Linked DNA regions of Homo sapiens: all the other regions are linked to region 3. The links are contacts of gene promoters, found by promoter capture Hi-C in blood cells and fetal thymus (Javierre and others, 2016). All regions are on one chromosome and are shown on one strand. Each heading gives the region's core, a stretch centred on a gene start or on the middle of the fragment in contact. The rest is flanking DNA. Distances are from core to core; before and after follow the strand shown.

Region 1 (2,799 bases), core at 1-2,500, 190 kb before region 3:
CCAGGCAGCCCAGCTGAAGGCAGTAAGCTCGGCTCACAGTCGCAGGAGAGTTCTGGGGTACACGGGCAAAGGGGCTTGAGAAGGCCCGGAGGCGAAGCCGAAGAGAAGCAACTGTGCCCCGGAGAAGAGAAGCTCGCCCATTCCAGACTGGGAACCAGCTTTCAGTGAAGATGGCAGGGCCAGAACTGTTGCTCGACTCCAACATCCGCCTCTGGGTGGTCCTACCCATCGTTATCATCACTTTCTTCGTAGGCATGATCCGCCACTACGTGTCCATCCTGCTGCAGAGCGACAAGAAGCTCACCCAGGAACAAGTATCTGACAGGTCAGCGCCCTCCCTTCTCCAGCCTACCTCACACCGCCGTGACCTTGGGCAAAAAAGTGCAGGAGTTGTGTCAATTTGCCTAGGTTCACGTCGCGCCCCCTCTGACAGGGTGACCTTACCCGTTACCTCTGTGTTTCACTTTTGTCCTCTGTGAAATGGGGATGATAACAGTACCTGCTTCATAGACAGGTAGGAATCAAATTAGGTGATGTCTGTAAGTCCCTTAGCACAGGATCTAGGACGTATTGAGTGTTGAAAAAAACAGTACTGTTAATCCTTTAGGTTAGTCGCCGACCCTCGGTGGGTTTACCTATGAACTATTCCATCCCACCCTTCCGTTGAGAAGAGTGCCAGGTGCGTTACAGCGTTTAGTCTTTGTAACATCCAGTCAAGTGAGTGTGATAATCTGCATTCTACCAAATTACTGTTCCAGGCGTCGGGCCTGGTGGGACTGTCAGCTGAGATGCCAAGTACCAAAGCGCTTTGCAGTCTGTAAAACTGCCATTAGAGATGTAAGGAATTGTAATTATTTCCCCCCACTAGAGTGGAGGCAACTTCCTCACATATTTCATTGCAGTATTTATTTATTTATCTATTTATTTGCTTATTTTTGAGACGGAGTTTCGCTCTCGTTGCCCAGGCTGGAGTGCGGTGGCGTCATCTCAGCTCACTGCAGTCTACGCCTCCCGGGTTCAAGCGATTCTCTTGCCTCAGCCCCCCGAGTAGCTGGGATTACAGGCCCGCACCACCACACCTGACTAATTTTTGTATTTTTAGTAGAGACAGGGTTTCACCATCTTGGCCAGGCTGTTCTCGAACTCGACCTCAGGTGATCCACCTGCCTTGGCCTCCCAAAGTGCTGGGATTACAGGTGTGAGCCATGGCAACCAGCCCCTCGTTGCAATATTTATATACAGATAAAGGAATTTGAGATGATTATAGGTGGTTATCTAGACATGTAGCCCCTCATATTAAAGTAATAGTTTTCTCCCAGCAACTTGGGATGCTGAGGCAGGAGGATTGTGGGAGACCAGCCTGGGCAACATAACGAGACCTTGTCTCTTAGAAAAACAAGCAATTTTCAGTCAGTTCTGATTACTTTCAGAAATCATCTCAGGTAAGTGCTACTATATCTTTAGCACCTCTCTCTCACATTAATTTCTCGTTTTAATAAAGAGAGTAAGCCTCAGGCTAAGAACTTTTCACAGGTAACAGTGTCTAGTTAAAATTTAATAATGTTGTTTTGTTTCTACTGTACTTAAGTTACTTTCTTTTTTGTGACAATACTGGATTTCCATTTGCTGGTAATTTAAAGATTCCTTTAAAATCATATAGATGGGAAAAAAGTTGATATATAAAAAGTATTAAATATGTAATGATACAAGCGTTGGACAAAAATTCTAACATGGCATGAGAGTGACTGAAGTTTAGGAAGCACTACTGTAACATTTTCAGTTAGTTCTTCCCAATTATGCCAAGAAGAATAATAACCATTTACTCTATATCAGGTACTATGTGAAGTACTTACATTCATTAACTTATTTAAAACTTCAAAGCAACTCTATGAGGTACATATTGTCTCATTTTATAGAAACAGAGGCTTTAACAAGTTCCATCCCACCCGTTCGTTGAGAAGAGTGCCAGGTGCGTTACAGCGTCACACAGGGTGACATTTAGGACTTCACACCAAGCCTTCTGGGTATTGGGCTTTTTCCACTATACTACAGCGATCACTTTATCTTTCTGTAGCATTAGTTTCAGAACTGACCAGAGCCAGCACCCCACCCTGGAGCGAACCTTAAGAAGTCAGCTTACTGGCCGGGCATGGTGGCTCATGCCTGTACTCCCAGCACTTTGGGAGGCCGAGGCGGACGGATCACGAGGTCAGGAGATCGAGACCATCCTGGCTAACATGGTGAAACCCCGTCTCTACTAAAAATACAAAAAATTAGCTGAGCGTGGTATGCTGGGCGCCTGTAGTCCCAGCTACTCGGGAGGCTGAGGCAGTGGAATTGCTTGAACCCAGGAGGCGGAGCTTGCAGTGAGCCAAGATCGCGCCACTGCACTTCAACCTGGGTGACAGAGCAAGACTCTGTCTCAAAAAAACAGAAAAGAAGTCAACTTACTGGCCGGGTGTGGTGGCTTACGCCTGTAATCCCAACACTTTGAGAGGCCGAGGCAGGCAGATCATGAGGTCAAGAGATTGAGACCATCCTGGCCAACATGGTGAAACCCCATCTCTACTAAAAATACAAAAATTAGCTGGGCGTGATGGCACGTGCCTGTAGTCCCAGCTACTCGGGAGGCTGAGGCAGGAGAATCGCTTGAATCCGGGAGGCAGAGGTTGCGGTGAGCCGAGATCATGCCACTGCACTCCAGCCTGGCGACAGAGCGAGACTCCATCTCATTTAAAAAAAAAAAAAAAAGTGTATTTACCACAGAAAGAAGGGCTGTAGAAAAGTGCGAAGTGGGGA
Region 2 (2,723 bases), core at 179-2,678, 170 kb before region 3:
CTCAAACAGTTAAAACATAGTTACTATATGATCCAGTAATTTCACTCTTAAGTAAATACTCAAGAGAACTGAAAATGTATGTCCACACAGAAACTTATGTGAGAATGTGTTCAGAGCATGATTCATAATAATCAAAAAGTAGACATAACCCAAATGTCCATCATCTAATGAATGAATAAACAATGGAATATTTTGGAATATAATGTACATTGTATGTACAGTAGAATATATACAATGGAGTGTTATTCAGCTATAAATAAGAGTGGAATACTGAATCATGTTAAACAGGGAAGAACCTTGAAAACATGCTAAGTGAAAGAAAATAACAAAAGGCCACATATGCCCAGAATAAGTGAAAAAAAGATACGGAAGATAACGTAGTAGTTGCCAGAGGTTGTGGGAGGTGAATAATGGGAGCTGTCTACTGTTTGGTATGTGGTTTCTTTTTGTTATGATAAAAGTGTTCTGCAATTAGATAGTGGTGGTGGTTGCACATATGAATATACTAAAAATCACTAAATTATACACATTAAAGGGGTAAATTGTATGACATGTAAATTATATCTGAAAAACTCACTCATGAGCTAACATTTGTATTTCACATTAAATAAGCTTGTTCTATCTATCTATCTATCTATCTATCTATCTATCTATCTATCTATCGAGGGTCTCACTGTGTCACCCAGGCTGGAGTGCAGTGGTACAATCCTTGCTCACTGCAGCCTCGAACTCCTGGACTTAAGCATTCCTCCCACCTCAGCCTCAGTACTGGTACACGAGAAGCCAGTACTACAGGCACACACCACCACACCCAACTAATTTTTTTTTAAATTTGTATAGAGATGGGATCTCGCTGTGTTGCCCAGGCTGGTCTTGAACTCCCATCCTCAAGTGATCCTCCTGCCTTGGCCTCCCAAAGTGCTAGGATTACAGGTGTGAGCTACCACATCTCGCAAGCTTTTTTTTTTTTTTTTTAATTTATTTTTAAAGACGAGGTATTACTATCTCTAGGCTCATCTAAAGATAGGTTGTCCAGGGCAGTCCCAAACTCCTGGGCTCAAGCTATCCTTAGCCTCAGCCTCCAGAGTAGCTGGGACTGTAGATGCATGCCACTGCACCCAACTCATAAAGCATTTTTTAGACACTCACTAATTTAAGGCAAAGTAGTCAGATTAATAGAATATTTGAGAAATGTAATTTCTTGGAAAATTCTGCAAATTTATTTCTGCTCAACATATTACTAGTTTACATCTAAATGATTATATGCCAAAAACAGTTTTTTAGTTCACATCATCAAAGTCTTTATTCCAGTGATTAAAAATTACTGGACTCCCACAAACTGTAATGAAGTGCCATTGTGTGTCTGGACATAAGGTTGGAGGAAGTGTTCTTAGGCCCACTGAAGATACCCTGGGCCATTTATGTCAAAGCATTGTGGACCATGCACCATTTAAACCAGATGGCAAGTCCCTTGATTAAAGAGCTGAGAATCTGCACTAATTTGTCTGTTGTACATCTCTCAAGAGTACTGTGGGGCACAAAGGTGCTTAGTGAGTGTGAGCTGATAGACGGGTTAAGCGCTGGGGACTTTGCAGTCAGACCACAATTTAAATCTCAGCTCCATTAGTTCCTAGTGCCAGTGGCCTTGAACAAATTATTTGACCTCTTAGTCTTAGTCTCCTTATCTATAAATTGAGGGGTGGCAGGAAGAGGGGGAGGAGAGGATTGGGGTAGCAGCATTTCCCTTGTAGGATTGAATGAGCTTATACATGCAGATAGCTCACTCCAGCTTTTGGCCCAGAGTAAGTGGTCACTAAAGGTTAGCCACAGCTGTCAGTAACAATTCCCTCTCTTCCTGCCTGGGTGTTCTCTTCCATTACAGACAGAGTGGGAAGCTTTGGAGCTGACGGATCACCAGTGGGCACTAGATGATGTCGAAGAAGAGCTCATGGCCAAAGACCTCCACTTCGAAGGCATGTTCAAAAAGGAATTACAGACCTCTATTTTTTGAAGACCGAGCAGGGATTAGCTGTGTCAGGAACTTGGAGTTGCACTTAACCTTGTAACTTTGTTTGGAGCTGGCACCTCTTGAAATAAAAAGGAGGATGCACGAGCTGGCAGGCATGCAGCAAGGCTTGTTCTTGTCTGGGCTGGGTTCCCCTTTATGTTTGAAACTAGAGGAAATAGGAGTATGCTGGGCAACTTGTTATTTTTAAAATGTTGTAAATGTTCCTTCTGGTGACTCTAGTAATGAAAGTCAGAGAAAGGGGGAAACCTCAGGCTACTGATAATATATAAAATCTTGGCCAGGCGCAGTGGCTCACGCCTGTAATCCCAGGATTTTGGGAGGCTGAGGCGGGTGGGTCACGAGATCAGGAGTTCAAGATCAGCCTGGCCAAGATGGTGAAACCCCATCTCTACTAAAAATACAAAAAAAAATTAGCCGGGCGTGGTGGTGGGCACCTGTAATCCCAGCTACTTGGGAGGCTGAGGCAGAGAACTGCTTAAACCTAGGAGGCGGAGGATGCAGTGAGCTGACATCGTGCCACTGCGCTCCAGCCTGGGCGACAGAGCAAAACTCCATCTGAAAAAAAAAAAAAAATATATATATATATATATATATATCTATCTTAGCAGAAGCCCAGTCTTCGAAGGAAGCATTGTTAATTATAGCTAATGATTATGTGCAGTCAGCCTGACATCTAGCCACAGTAAACTCCTGT
Region 3 (2,760 bases), core at 246-2,745:
TAGAGGTCTAATTTCAAGGTCTCTTCAAGATATCCAGGCAAACCTTGAAAGAGAGCTGAGAAGCCAGATTAGGAGTCATCAGAATGAAGAAAGTTATCGAAGCCAGGAGACTAGATCGGTATCACCAGGGAAGGTGTGACGAAGAGGGAGATGGTCATCCAAAGTCACAACTCCCAGGAATGCCCACACGTATGAAAAAGGCCCACATGTATGAAAAAGGCCCACATGTATGAAAAAGGGAGGACTTCCAGGAAGGGAGGGATGAGCAGTATCACAGCTAACATACACTAAGGCTGACACAGTTCAGTTCTGACCAGGAAGGGCCTGAATGGAAGCAACACGAGAGATCCTCCAATGGGGTGGAAGCAGGGCTGGAGGTACCAAGAATGGGATAAGGAAGTGTGGCCGCCTGCCTTAAGCAACTGTAGGGTCAGGAAGGCAGAAGAGGACAAAGGGCGTATGTCGTGAAGTTCCACTGTGGATAGGCAGGTGGACTTGCTTCATGCCTCAGAGGCTAAGAGGCCGACTACGTACCCTCGAAATGCTCCAAAGAGCCTAGGAGACCCCACTTCCGGGTTCCTACAGGGCTCAGGAAAAGCCCCTACCTGCTTCGAAGGCTGACCGTGAAGCCACAAGGCCCACTTCATACCAGGGAGTACCCCCACTCGCCCCTTCCTCACCTCGGGCCCCCGCCCCGTCTCTTTTTCCCACCCTCATCGTGTCCCCACAACCCCCGGACATCCCTCGGCCCCGCGCCCCTGCGGCAAAGCCACATCTCCCACCGACCCACTGCCCTGAGGCCGAACAGCCGGGGGTCCCTGGCCGGGGGCCCGGCTCTCTCACCATCGCGGGCGCTGGCTGGGCCGGAAAGCGGAAGTACGGAAGTGGCCAGCCCCGCGATGCCTGCCCTTTCGCGAGAAGCGCAGCTACGGTCTCCGCCCGGACTTCCGGACGGTACCATCTATGCTCCGAGCGGGGTAGAGAGCCCTTACGAACGCTTGGGCCTTCCGGAAGTTTTCCACCTAGGGCTGTCTCGGTATTTTTAAATTCTTGCACTCGAGTCACTATTTAAGCTCCTCCAGGAATGGGTGCAGCTTCCCTTTGTGCCTTCGGCCTTCTTGTCACCTTTGCCACAGCCTCCCCCAGGTATGCAATGGTACAGCCCAGCTTCAGATTGGGCACCAAATTAGGACAAGCCGAAGCGGACGAGCCCTTCGTTTCTTCCGGTTCTGTACCCCCATCCTTTCTCTCGCCCCTCCTACCCGCAGCTCCTGGCGCTCGGCGGGGCTAACTGCAGCGCGGAGATCTCGGCCGCCAAGCTCCGCCTCCCGCCCCGGGCTGTGCCCCGGGGCTCGCCTGAGGCCGACCACCCGCACCCCACCTCTAGCGGCTTTGCTCGAGGCCCACCTTCTTCCCACCCCCGGCAAACTCCAGTAGGCTCGCCCTCGCTGACTCCCCGCCCCCGCGTCAACTGCAAGGGGCCCGCCCATAGCCAGTTCCGGGGCGGTTGCTCACATCGACCGGAACTCCCCGCCCCCTCCCGCGGCCCCTGGGGCCGTAGGAGGCCGCAGCGAGGAGGTAGAGGGGGCGGGGGTCGCACTAGGGTGTCCCTAGAGAACGAGGACTCTGAAGGCGGGACATTTGGGCGACCCCCGGGCGGGGCCAGCCATTAAACAGTCCCACTTCTGTGCCAGACACTGAACTGGGCTCTTGACGGGCATCATCTCTTAATCCTCAGAACATCCCAGGGAGGTAGGTACTATTGTTATCCCCATTTTTCAGATTCAGACTTTTAATGGGGAAACAGACCGAGACTTCTTTTGTCCCCATTTTACAGATGGAAAAACTGAGACTGAAAAAGGTCAAATAACATGTTCAGGGGCATATAAGTAGAGAATGGTAAAGCCTGGGCTTGAACCCAGGTCTGTCTGGCTTACCAGCCCACGTTCTAAACCACTGTTAGTGACTAGAGAAGGGAGAAAGGTGGAATAGGGTAAGAAAAGAGGCCAAGAGTCCCAGAGAACATGGTAAGAATGGGGTGCTTGGAACTCAAAGTCTTAGCAGAACCCAAGAGAAATAGAAGGGAAGGAAAGAGCATCAGAAAGGCGAGGCAAGGCATAGCAGTATAGCATGGTGATCAGGGTGCAGACTCAAGACTAGCGGGGTTCAAATTGCATCTTGGAAGCATAGGCACATACCCACCCTTACAGAGTCTCAGTTTCTTTCTCTGTAAAAACGAGATCACAATGGTCCTTGTTCATGGTGCTGAGTGAGAAATTCAGTGAGATAAACTGATAAAGTGCTCTGCACCTAGCTTGGTACCCAGTTAAGTGCCCTGTGAGTAGGAACTGTGCCATCAATTTTGTCAGTAAGGGACTGAAGCTGGGCTTCCTTGAGGCTGTCCCTGGAGGTAAGAAGCCCTTGGGCTTTTCTCAGACCACTTTGTCTCCCATCAATGGCCCTGTCCTCTCCAGCTCCACAGGATCCCCATATCCTGGGCCATGAGTGAGTTGAAAGACTGCCCCTTGCAGTTCCACGACTTCAAGTCTGTGGATCACCTGAAGGTCTGTCCCCGCTACACGGCAGTGCTGGCACGCTCTGAGGATGATGGCATCGGCATCGAGGAGCTGGACACCCTGCAGCTGGAGCTGGAGACCCTGCTGTCTTCTGCCAGCCGGCGCCTGCGTGTGCTTGAGGCCGAAACCCAGGTGATAACCCCAGAGAGGGGCCAGCACCAGAGATGGACTGCAACAAGTTATG
Region 4 (2,700 bases), core at 112-2,611, 240 kb before region 3:
ACGGTGAAACTCCGTCTCTACTAAAAATACAAAAAATTAGTCAGGCATGGTGGCGGGCGCCTGTAGTCCCAGCTACTTGGGAAGCTGAGGCAGAATGGTGTGAACCTGGGAGGTGGAGCTTGCAGTGAGCAGAGATCGCGCCACTGCACTCCAGCCTGGGCGACAGAGCAAGACTCCGTCTCAAAAAAAAAAAAAAAAAAAAGACTTAGCTTTGATAGCAGATAGCCACTAAGTGTTCTAAAAAAGACCTGCCATAACCTTAGCAAGATAGAATAATCTGCTCCCCCAAAACAGAATCTTATATGGCTTTATAAATTTTCTTCTGAAATTATTCTGACACTGATACAGCTGCTTTCTGGATATTTATTTTTTCATAAGAAAACACAAAATAAATAATATATAATATTTTTTCTAATAAAAGGATGAGAAATGCTTTACTTAAGACATAGTAATGAGGACCAAAGACTGTACCATTTTCTTTTTCCATTTTTGTTTTTTGGAAATGGAGTCTCACTCTTGTCGCCCAGGCTGGAGTGCAGTGGTGCGATCTTGACTCACTGCAACTTTCACCTCCCGGGTTCAAGCAATTCTCCTGACTCAGGCGCCCAAGCAGCTGGGACTACAGGCACATGCCACCATGCCCGGCTAATTTTTTATATTTTAGTAGAGACGTGTTGCCCAGGCCGGTCGCAAATTCCTGAGCTCAGGCAATCCGCCTGCCTCGAGCCTCCCAAAGTGCTGGGATGATAAACGTGAGCCACCGCGCCCGGCCTGACTGTACCATTTTCTAAAAAGCAATTTCAACTTTGTCTCAAGATGGATGGCCCTCTGATTTCTAATCTTCATTGCCTCTCTATTTAGAAAACCCATGATTCAGTCCTGAACTATTTCATTAAACCCAGAGAATAAAATTAGATTAAAATATTACCTAGTTGATTCTGACTCTCTCCCGTTTTAAGAATAATTCCTGATATCTTAAGAAGCTTTACAAAGATGCTGTCATTTTCTTCAACTTCATTAGCAATATGAGATTTCTTTGTCTTTTTGGAAAGTGGTTGCTTCCTGGTTTCTGAAAATAGAAAAATTTTCAAGAATATGGCAAATAGTAAAGGAAAAATTAAAACTTAAACCCAGGAATAATAATCATGAGAGGAAAACTGATGTGTCCTTAAAAATTATACTAGGATTGATGCTGTAGTGAAATAAACTGTCTTCAGCAATAGTGGCTTCCAAAACAAACAAATAGAATTATTTTCACCTATTTTCATTTGAAGAATTCAAAATGTGCCATTTCTGGCCAGGCAAGGTGGCTCATGTGGTAATCCCAGCAAATTAGGAGGCCAAGGCAGGAGGATCACTTGAAGCCAGGAGTTCAAGACCAGCCTGGGCAACAAAGTGAGACCACCCCCCCATCTCCCCCCCTTCACCCCCATTCCCCCCCTCCACACACAAACTAGTTAGGTGAGGAGACGCACACCTGTAGTCCCAGCTACTTCGGAGGCTAAGGCGGAAGAATAACTTGAGCCCAGGAGGTTGAGGCTATAGTGAGCTATGATATTACCACTGCACTCCAGCCTGGGTGACAGAGTGAAATCCCCATCTCTAAAAAAATAAATTCAAACAAATAAGTGCCTAACAAGAATAACCCACAGAAATGTTTTCCACCCAAATACTAAACTAGCCAGTGTCTCTCAAGCTGTTGCCTGCAAACCACTGTACTGGAATCCCTGGGAAGCTTATTAAAATGCATATTTCCGACCCAGCACAGTGGCTCACGCCTGTAATCCCAGCACTTTGGGAGGCCGAGGCAGGCTGATTACCTGAGGTCAGGAGTTCAAGACCAGCCTGGCTAACGTGGTGAAACCCCATCTCTACTAAAAATACAAAATTAACTGGGTGTGGTGGCGTGCGCCTGTAATACCAACTACTCGGGAGGCTGAGGAGGAGAATCACTTGAACCCGGGAGGCAGAGGTTGCAGTGAGCCCAGATCGCGCCACTTCACTCCTGCCTGAGCAACAGAGTGACACTCTGTCTCAAAGGAAAAAAAAGGCATATTCCATGCCATATACCAGAGTTACTGAGTCAAAATCTTGGGAATGGGACCTAGGAATCCGAATTTTTTATGTTCTTCAGATAATAATCCTGATACACACCAAATTTGAGACTCAATGATCTGAATAAAGGGTAGACAGAATGGGGAAGGTTCTTTGTATCATATCTTTGACTACAATGCTCAGATAGGTTTAATCCCAAGACTTTCAACCCATAAAAAGAAATAAGAAACAAGAAACAAACAGGTACTTGAAGCCAAGTTTAAAATTTACTCTTCTCCCTTAATGATGCCATTTTGTTTTTTCCTTCTTCAATTCCTCTCCCTCTTTCTTTTTTTTTTTTTTTTGAAATGGAGTCTTGCTCTGTCGCCCAGGCTGGAGTGCAGTGGCGCGATCTTGGCTCACTGCAAGCTCCGCCTCCCGGGTTCATGCCATTCTCCTGCCTCAGCCTCCCAGTAGCTGGGACTACAGGTGCACACCACCACGCCCGGCTAATTTTTTGTATTTTTAGTAGAGACGGGGTTTCACCATGTTAGCCAAGATGGTCTCAATCTCCTGACCTCGTGATCTGCCCGCCTTGGCCACCCAAAGTGCTGGGATTACAGGCGTGAGCCACCGTGCCTGGCCTCCTTTCCCTCTTTCTAATAA
Region 5 (2,737 bases), core at 111-2,610, 130 kb after region 3:
TAACTTTCGGGAACATGAAAACTTTCCAAAGTGGCAACAGCTTTAAGAAGATCAATTTCTAGGACCTAACTTCCATACATACTTTTCCCTAAAACTGATCTGAAGAAGAAAGCTTTTGGCAGAGTCTCCCTTCCTTCCTCCTCTTTCCCAATTTACAAAAAAGGCACACCAGGGACTGAGACAACAGTCAGACTCTCCCCATTGCCCTGCCCTTGACCACTGAGACACTCAGATACCAGCTAAAGGAATGAATAGACTGAATTCCGCTCCCTTCCCCTCTGAGGCTCTCTGTATGTCAGTCCACTCTTCTTGGACCAATTTTCGCACCGTTGCTACTTGCATTCGGAATTTCCCCGCTCAAACGTCACAATGGCTCTCCTAGCAAACACAGAGCCACCTCCCTGCTCAGCGTTCAGCCGTCTTCATTCAATCCCCTCCATCCTCTGCCCTGATGTGTACCCTCTACTTAGGGAAGTTACTTAGTCACTCTCAGCCTCTGTTTCATCTGCAATGAAATGGGCACATCCCGTACACCAAAAGATAGATAAAAATGAAACCAAACTGGGGAGCCAAATTAAATTAACAAAAGTCCTTAGAATATAAGCTCCATGACAATAAAGATTTTTGTCTGCTTTACATGGTGATGTATTTTAAGGCCTGAAGCAGTGTCTGGCACATAATATACAATAAATACTTGGTGAATTATATAATTGAAAGAATGGAAAAACAATATAGGAACTCATTTGATTTAATCTAATCCACAAACCTTTGAAATAGGTGATTATTATTCTTAATTTATAGGAGAGGAAAAGGAGGCTCTGCATAGGCAGGAAATAAGAGTCAGGATCTGAACCTAGGCAGTCTGGCTCTGGAACACGGGGTGGGGTATGCTGGTGTGACCATCCCTTCTCTACCTAGAACCATCCTTCAGTCAGAATTGGTCTGTTTCTCTGGACTGCTTCCCACAACACCCAGTAACCACCCAATGCTTGGCTACTAATGTTGAGGGAAAAAAAGACCCTATACTTTGCAGTAAGTCAGCTACCCCAGAAGAGAGTCGTGGAGCATGAAGCTATGGTATGGGCCTTACCTTGCCCTTGAACAGGATTACTGGGCAGACAAACCGTCCTCTGCACCGGGCCATCTTGCTGCGGTGGATGAGGTCTTGCAACTTGCTCACCTGTACGGTACTCTCAAACCTAACACACAGGCAAGAGAAGCAGGTCAAGCTGACTTTGAAGTGGGCACTTTGTGTATATGTGTTTATTCACACAGACCCCCATACTAGATCTGTGTACATAATGCTTGCTTGAAATTAAATGTCATTCCTAAATTTTATATCATCTATCATCTGTCTGTCTATCTATCTATTTTTTTGAGACGGAGTTTCACTGTTGTTGCCCAGGCTAGAGTGCAGTGGCGCAATCTTGGCTCACCACAGCCTCTGCCTCCCGGGTTCAAGCAATTCTCCTGTCTCAGCCTCCCGAGTATGCTGTGACTACAGGTGTGAGCCACCACACCTGGGTAATTTTTTTATTTTTGGTAGAGACGGGGTTTCACCACGTTGGCCAGGCTGGCCTCAAACTCCTGACCTCAGGCGATCCGCCCACCTCGGCCTCCCAAAGTGCCGGGATCACAGGCATGAGATATATTAAGTTTTTCAGGAAAAAAAAAAAGTGCTAATTATAGGTATTAAAACTTAAATCACTCTGATTTCTGAACCTTTAAGATAAAAAAAAAGTGAGCTAAACTGAAGACATATACAAAATTCAGAAATATACACAGAAAACTGGATATTATGTCTAGGGTGTCCAATTTTTAACTCCCAGGATAAGACCTGGTGCCCTAGGGACCCTCTCTGGAAATCACAGGACCATTTTTGTGACTATCTATTTTTTGCATAACTCTGAATATGTATTTTTGTGATCTTTTAGAGCAAGCAGTCCCCAGGCCCTGAGCCCCAGATCAGTACGAGTCCATGCCCCATTAGGAACCAGGAGGTGAGCAGCAGGCAAGTGAGCATTACCGTCTGACTTCCACCTCCTGTCAGATCATCAGTGGCGGCATTATATTCTCATAGGAGCTCGAACCCTATTGTGAACTCCGCATGTGAGGGACTGGGGTTGCAGAGAATCTAATGCCTCATGATCTGAGGTGGAACAGTTTCATCTGAAACCATTTTCTCCACCCTGCCGTGGAAAAATTGTTTTCCATGAAACCAGTCCCTGGTGCCAAAAAGGTTGGGGAGTGCTGTTTTAGAGGGCAGAATGAGATGACGTTTCTTGGTCCACATGGCTCTAGGCCTCTGCTTTCACAGTCCATATGGCCAACAGCGCACAGAGCAAAGGAGGCATAAGAGAAGCCATGTGTGACACAGGGACGTGTAGTAGTTAATGCACTGGGCTTGGTAAGTGAGCTTCTAGAACTTGAGAGTGAGGTTTAGAAGTTAGCTCCAGCAAGTCATACCCATATCAAATCACGCTTCCCTAAAATAAGGGTCCGCTCTCATAAACTCACCTACCAACCTTTAGCAAAGCTCACCCCAGCCAGTCAGAGCTTCTGGTAGCAACAGAAACAGGAGGCAGGAAAGTTAGAGCAGGAAGCTTTCCCAGCTACACAGAGTAACCAAGTAGAAGGAAGGAAAAATACTCATGTTCCTTCCTTAAAAGTGTTGAGCTTTCAGACCAACTCCTAGAGGGAATTTAATTGCTTCCACATCCTAATCCTTCTAGGAATC
Region 6 (2,700 bases), core at 201-2,700, 220 kb before region 3:
CAAGATTGTGCCACTGCACTCCAGCCTGGGCGACAGAGCGAGACTCTGCCTCAAAAAAAAAAAAAAAAAGAGACAGAATAAATAGTAAATAGTAAAATGCAAGAAGTGAGGCTTCACCACCCCACCTAGCTGATTTTTGTCTTCATCTGTGCAACTATGTTGGAGCAATCTTATTCCTCCTTTTCTTCGGTGGACACATGCAGCAAAATCTTAATAGAAGTGAAAGATGCGTCCTCCGGCAGCCCTGTGGCAGCCCCAGTTTCTTTTCTTTTCTTTTTTTTTTTTTTTTTTTTTGAGACGGAGTCTCACTCTGTCCCCCAGGCTGGAGTGCAGTGGCACAATCTCGGCTCACTGCAAACTCCACCTCCCAGGTTCACGCCACTCTCCTGCCTCAGCCTTCTGAGTAGCTGGGACTATAGGTGCCCGCCACCAAGCCTGGCTAATTTTTTGTATTTTTAGTAGAGATGGAGTTTCACCATGTTAGCCAGGATGGTCTCGATTTCCTGACCTCGTGATCCTCCCGCCTTGGCCTCCCAAAGTGCTGGGATTACAGGCATGAGCCACTGCGTCCGGCTGCGGCAGCCCCAGTTTCTTGTTGGCTAGGCTGATGTCACAGCCTCAGGCTGTCCAGCTTGGACAACACTGGCTTCCTGTGATGATTGTCGCTGGGCAAGGGACGTTTCTGGGTCTCTGCCACTGCTGCTGGTGGTGTGGGTGGAGGTAGAGGCCACAGCGTCACGCTGGGGGGCTTTGCCAAAACTGTCCGGCTTCCTCTGCAGGCTGGCAGGGGCACTGGCAGGAACAGTGGTCTTCTGCTGAATGCTGAATATGGGACAAGCTGGCTCGCTGTGAGCCTGCTTCAGTGGGAGAGAGAAGGTGGAAACTTCAGTGGATAGAGAAGGACAGGTGGGAACCCCAGGAGGAAGGGACCATGGTCTGATGGTGGACTGCTTCTTTTGTTTGTTCTAAAATGAGGTAGGTGGCCATAGGATAGTGAAACGCTTTTTCTTTGATTGGCACAGAGATGTTCTTGGCCTGGAATCCCATGGCCACCATGAGCTGGGTGGTATGTTGGCTCATGGCTCTTTGTATGTTGTCCGTGGCATCTCCTAACCACAGTTCACCCACCAGTCCCTCAAAACTTCTTTCAGTGGGGGCCACTCCCTGGGTTCTAGTGTTAGTAACTTTTGAATGAATCTTTCAAGTTGAAGGGAAAAAAAATGGTGAGGCGTGGTAGCTTCCTGTGAAAATTTGATTCTTGAGGTCCATCGTGTTCCCTGAATAGAAGGGTAGGGCCCCGGCCACCATATGGTAGAGTATGACGCCAAGGCCCCATATGTCCATGGCAGGGCACTGGTACCCCCAGCCCAGGAAGAGTTCTGAGCAGGAATGGTGGTCTTCTGCCTTCACTTCTCGCCGTCCTTGGGCAGTCAAAAATTAAAAGTGGGAACAGCTGGCTCCCTTTGAGCCCTCTTTGGTTCCACAAGGAAGGCAGACTTTGTCAGATGGGGAAGAACAGGTGGGACCCCCAGGAGGAAGGGCTGTGCTCCAATGATGGAGCGCTTCCTCCTCTGTACTTTTCTCTACCCCAGGATTAGGTACGTGGCCATGGGATAATCACATATGTATTTTTTGTTGGGGAGAATATTGATTCCGAGATGTGTGCTGCTTGGAATCCCATGGCCACCATTACCAGGGTTGTAGGGGGCATAGGTGTCCAGGGTCTCTGTATGGTGTCAGCAGTGTCTTCTGGCCAGCATTGACCCAGGGGTCCCACGTCAGCTGGTTTAGTGGGGGCCACTCCCTGGGGTCGAGGCTGAGGAATTGTTTTACTAGTGTTTCCAGTGGAAACGAAGAAATAGGTGGGCAGTCATACTGTCACATAGCCTGAGGCAGGAAGGGACCACGGGTGGGGCTGGATGTTTTTCAGCCTCCCTGGCAGAGATCACTGACAGAGTGGTCAGCTTGGCCAAGTTTCTGCGGTGGCTGGCAGAAGAGGGAGAGGGAGGCAGTCCCCAGAGCAGGAATGCCTTCCCTTGCAGGGGAAAAACCGGCCATCCTCCCCTCAGAGCCTCCTTCACTGCAGCCCGTGGGAAGTGAGTGACCTGGGGGATCCGTGCCCCAGGGGCTAACCTCTGGGCTCTGGCTTAGCCCCACCCCGGGGAAACATTCACAGCCCCTCCTGAAGAGAGCCTTGCTGCAGGAAGACTCTGGCGGCGGGTGTGGGGGGGTGGTGCCCAGCTGGGAGAGTTCTGGGCTGTTGGTGGCAGTACCCCAGGCTCCAAACTCTCTGGGCCTGGGGGCAATTCCCTTCCCTGAGTACAACAGATTCCCACCCCGCCCTGCCCTACTGCCCGCCCCGCAGGGAAGTGGCCCAGGAGAGGAGGCGTGGACAGGTATCCCAGTGACTCCAGTCGGAGTCAGCTTGGGTAGCATGGCCCGCGGAAGACAGACCGGGCGAACGGGGCGGGCCCCAGGCTACCGAGCTGCAGCTGACAGGCAGTCCGGCGGCGTCGGGTCTCCATGGATACGGGGGTGGGGCCAGGCGGCGGCGAGCGGCGGCGGGCGGGGCTTTTAACGGCCATCGGCCCCTCCCAGCCTGGACAAAGACACAGAGCGCGGCCTGGGAGGCGGAGCTCTGCGGGCGGCCGGGGCCGCCTCCTTCCAGGCGCTGCTGCCCCAACACAGGCGGGCACTCTC

What was found. Contacts are between HindIII fragments. The CHiCAGO score rates a contact against its expected background, and 5 or more counts as called.
Region 1: a fragment that was not itself captured here is called in contact with the fragment with the promoter of TADA3 in region 3 in 2 of 17 cell types (neutrophils and monocytes); the score reaches 6.1 in neutrophils.
Region 2: a fragment that was not itself captured here is called in contact with the fragment with the promoter of TADA3 in region 3 in 1 of 17 cell types (monocytes); the score reaches 5.7 in monocytes.
Region 4: a contact is called between a fragment that was not itself captured here and the fragment with the promoter of TADA3 in region 3, in 12 of 17 cell types (monocytes, naive B cells, erythroblasts and 9 more). The highest score is 9.9, in monocytes.
Region 5: a fragment that was not itself captured here is called in contact with the fragment with the promoter of TADA3 in region 3 in 1 of 17 cell types (neutrophils); the score reaches 9.0 in neutrophils.
Region 6: a fragment that was not itself captured here is called in contact with the fragment with the promoter of TADA3 in region 3 in 1 of 17 cell types (monocytes); the score reaches 6.4 in monocytes.

The regions. Positions count from the first base shown.
Region 1 is chr3:9,984,033-9,986,831 of GRCh38, reverse strand. EMC3 (ER membrane protein complex subunit 3) reads left to right here. Exons shown (of 8, transcript NM_001394674.1): 1 at 1-325. The coding sequence starts at 171. Among named protein-coding and RNA genes, the nearest start is that of EMC3, 1.4 kb to the left of the region's middle. RefSeq lists enhancers at 1-61, 1-173. The HindIII fragment of the contact is 8,045 bases long and covers 1-2,799 here.
Region 2 is chr3:9,963,357-9,966,079 of GRCh38, reverse strand. It overlaps EMC3 (ER membrane protein complex subunit 3), which reads left to right. Exons shown (of 8, transcript NM_001394674.1): 8 at 1,883-2,723. The coding sequence ends at 2,011. Among named protein-coding and RNA genes, the nearest start is that of PRRT3, 12 kb to the right of the region's middle. The HindIII fragment of the contact is 938 bases long and covers 960-1,897 here.
Region 3 is chr3:9,791,208-9,793,967 of GRCh38, reverse strand. It overlaps TADA3 (transcriptional adaptor 3), which reads left to right and starts at 1,495. Exons shown (of 9, transcript NM_006354.5): 1 at 1,495-1,752; 2 at 2,475-2,708. The coding sequence starts at 2,502. It overlaps ARPC4-TTLL3 (ARPC4-TTLL3 readthrough), which reads right to left and starts at 1,420. Exons shown (of 12, transcript NM_001198793.1): 1 at 844-1,420. The coding sequence starts at 846. ARPC4 (actin related protein 2/3 complex subunit 4) reads right to left here and starts at 886. Exons shown (of 6, transcript NM_005718.5): 1 at 844-886. The coding sequence starts at 846. RefSeq lists enhancers at 221-310, 510-1,036, 1,011-1,110, 1,037-1,563, 2,668-2,760 and silencers at 1,241-1,530, 1,591-1,680. The HindIII fragment of the contact is 10,858 bases long and covers 1-2,760 here.
Region 4 is chr3:10,031,201-10,033,900 of GRCh38, reverse strand. It overlaps FANCD2 (FA complementation group D2), which reads right to left. Exons shown (of 44, transcript NM_001018115.3): 3 at 929-1,069. Among named protein-coding and RNA genes, the nearest start is that of FANCD2, 6.1 kb to the right of the region's middle. The HindIII fragment of the contact is 752 bases long and covers 986-1,737 here.
Region 5 is chr3:9,660,729-9,663,465 of GRCh38, reverse strand. MTMR14 (myotubularin related protein 14) reads right to left here. Exons shown (of 19, transcript NM_001077525.3): 3 at 1,091-1,199. Among named protein-coding and RNA genes, the nearest start is that of MTMR14, 13 kb to the right of the region's middle. The HindIII fragment of the contact is 2,491 bases long and covers 115-2,605 here.
Region 6 is chr3:10,011,080-10,013,779 of GRCh38, reverse strand. It overlaps a transcript of EMC3 not described here and the pseudogene MARK2P2. Among named protein-coding and RNA genes, the nearest start is that of FANCD2, 14 kb to the left of the region's middle. RefSeq lists an enhancer at 2,108-2,633 and a silencer at 2,432-2,661. The HindIII fragment of the contact is 6,602 bases long and covers 1-2,700 here.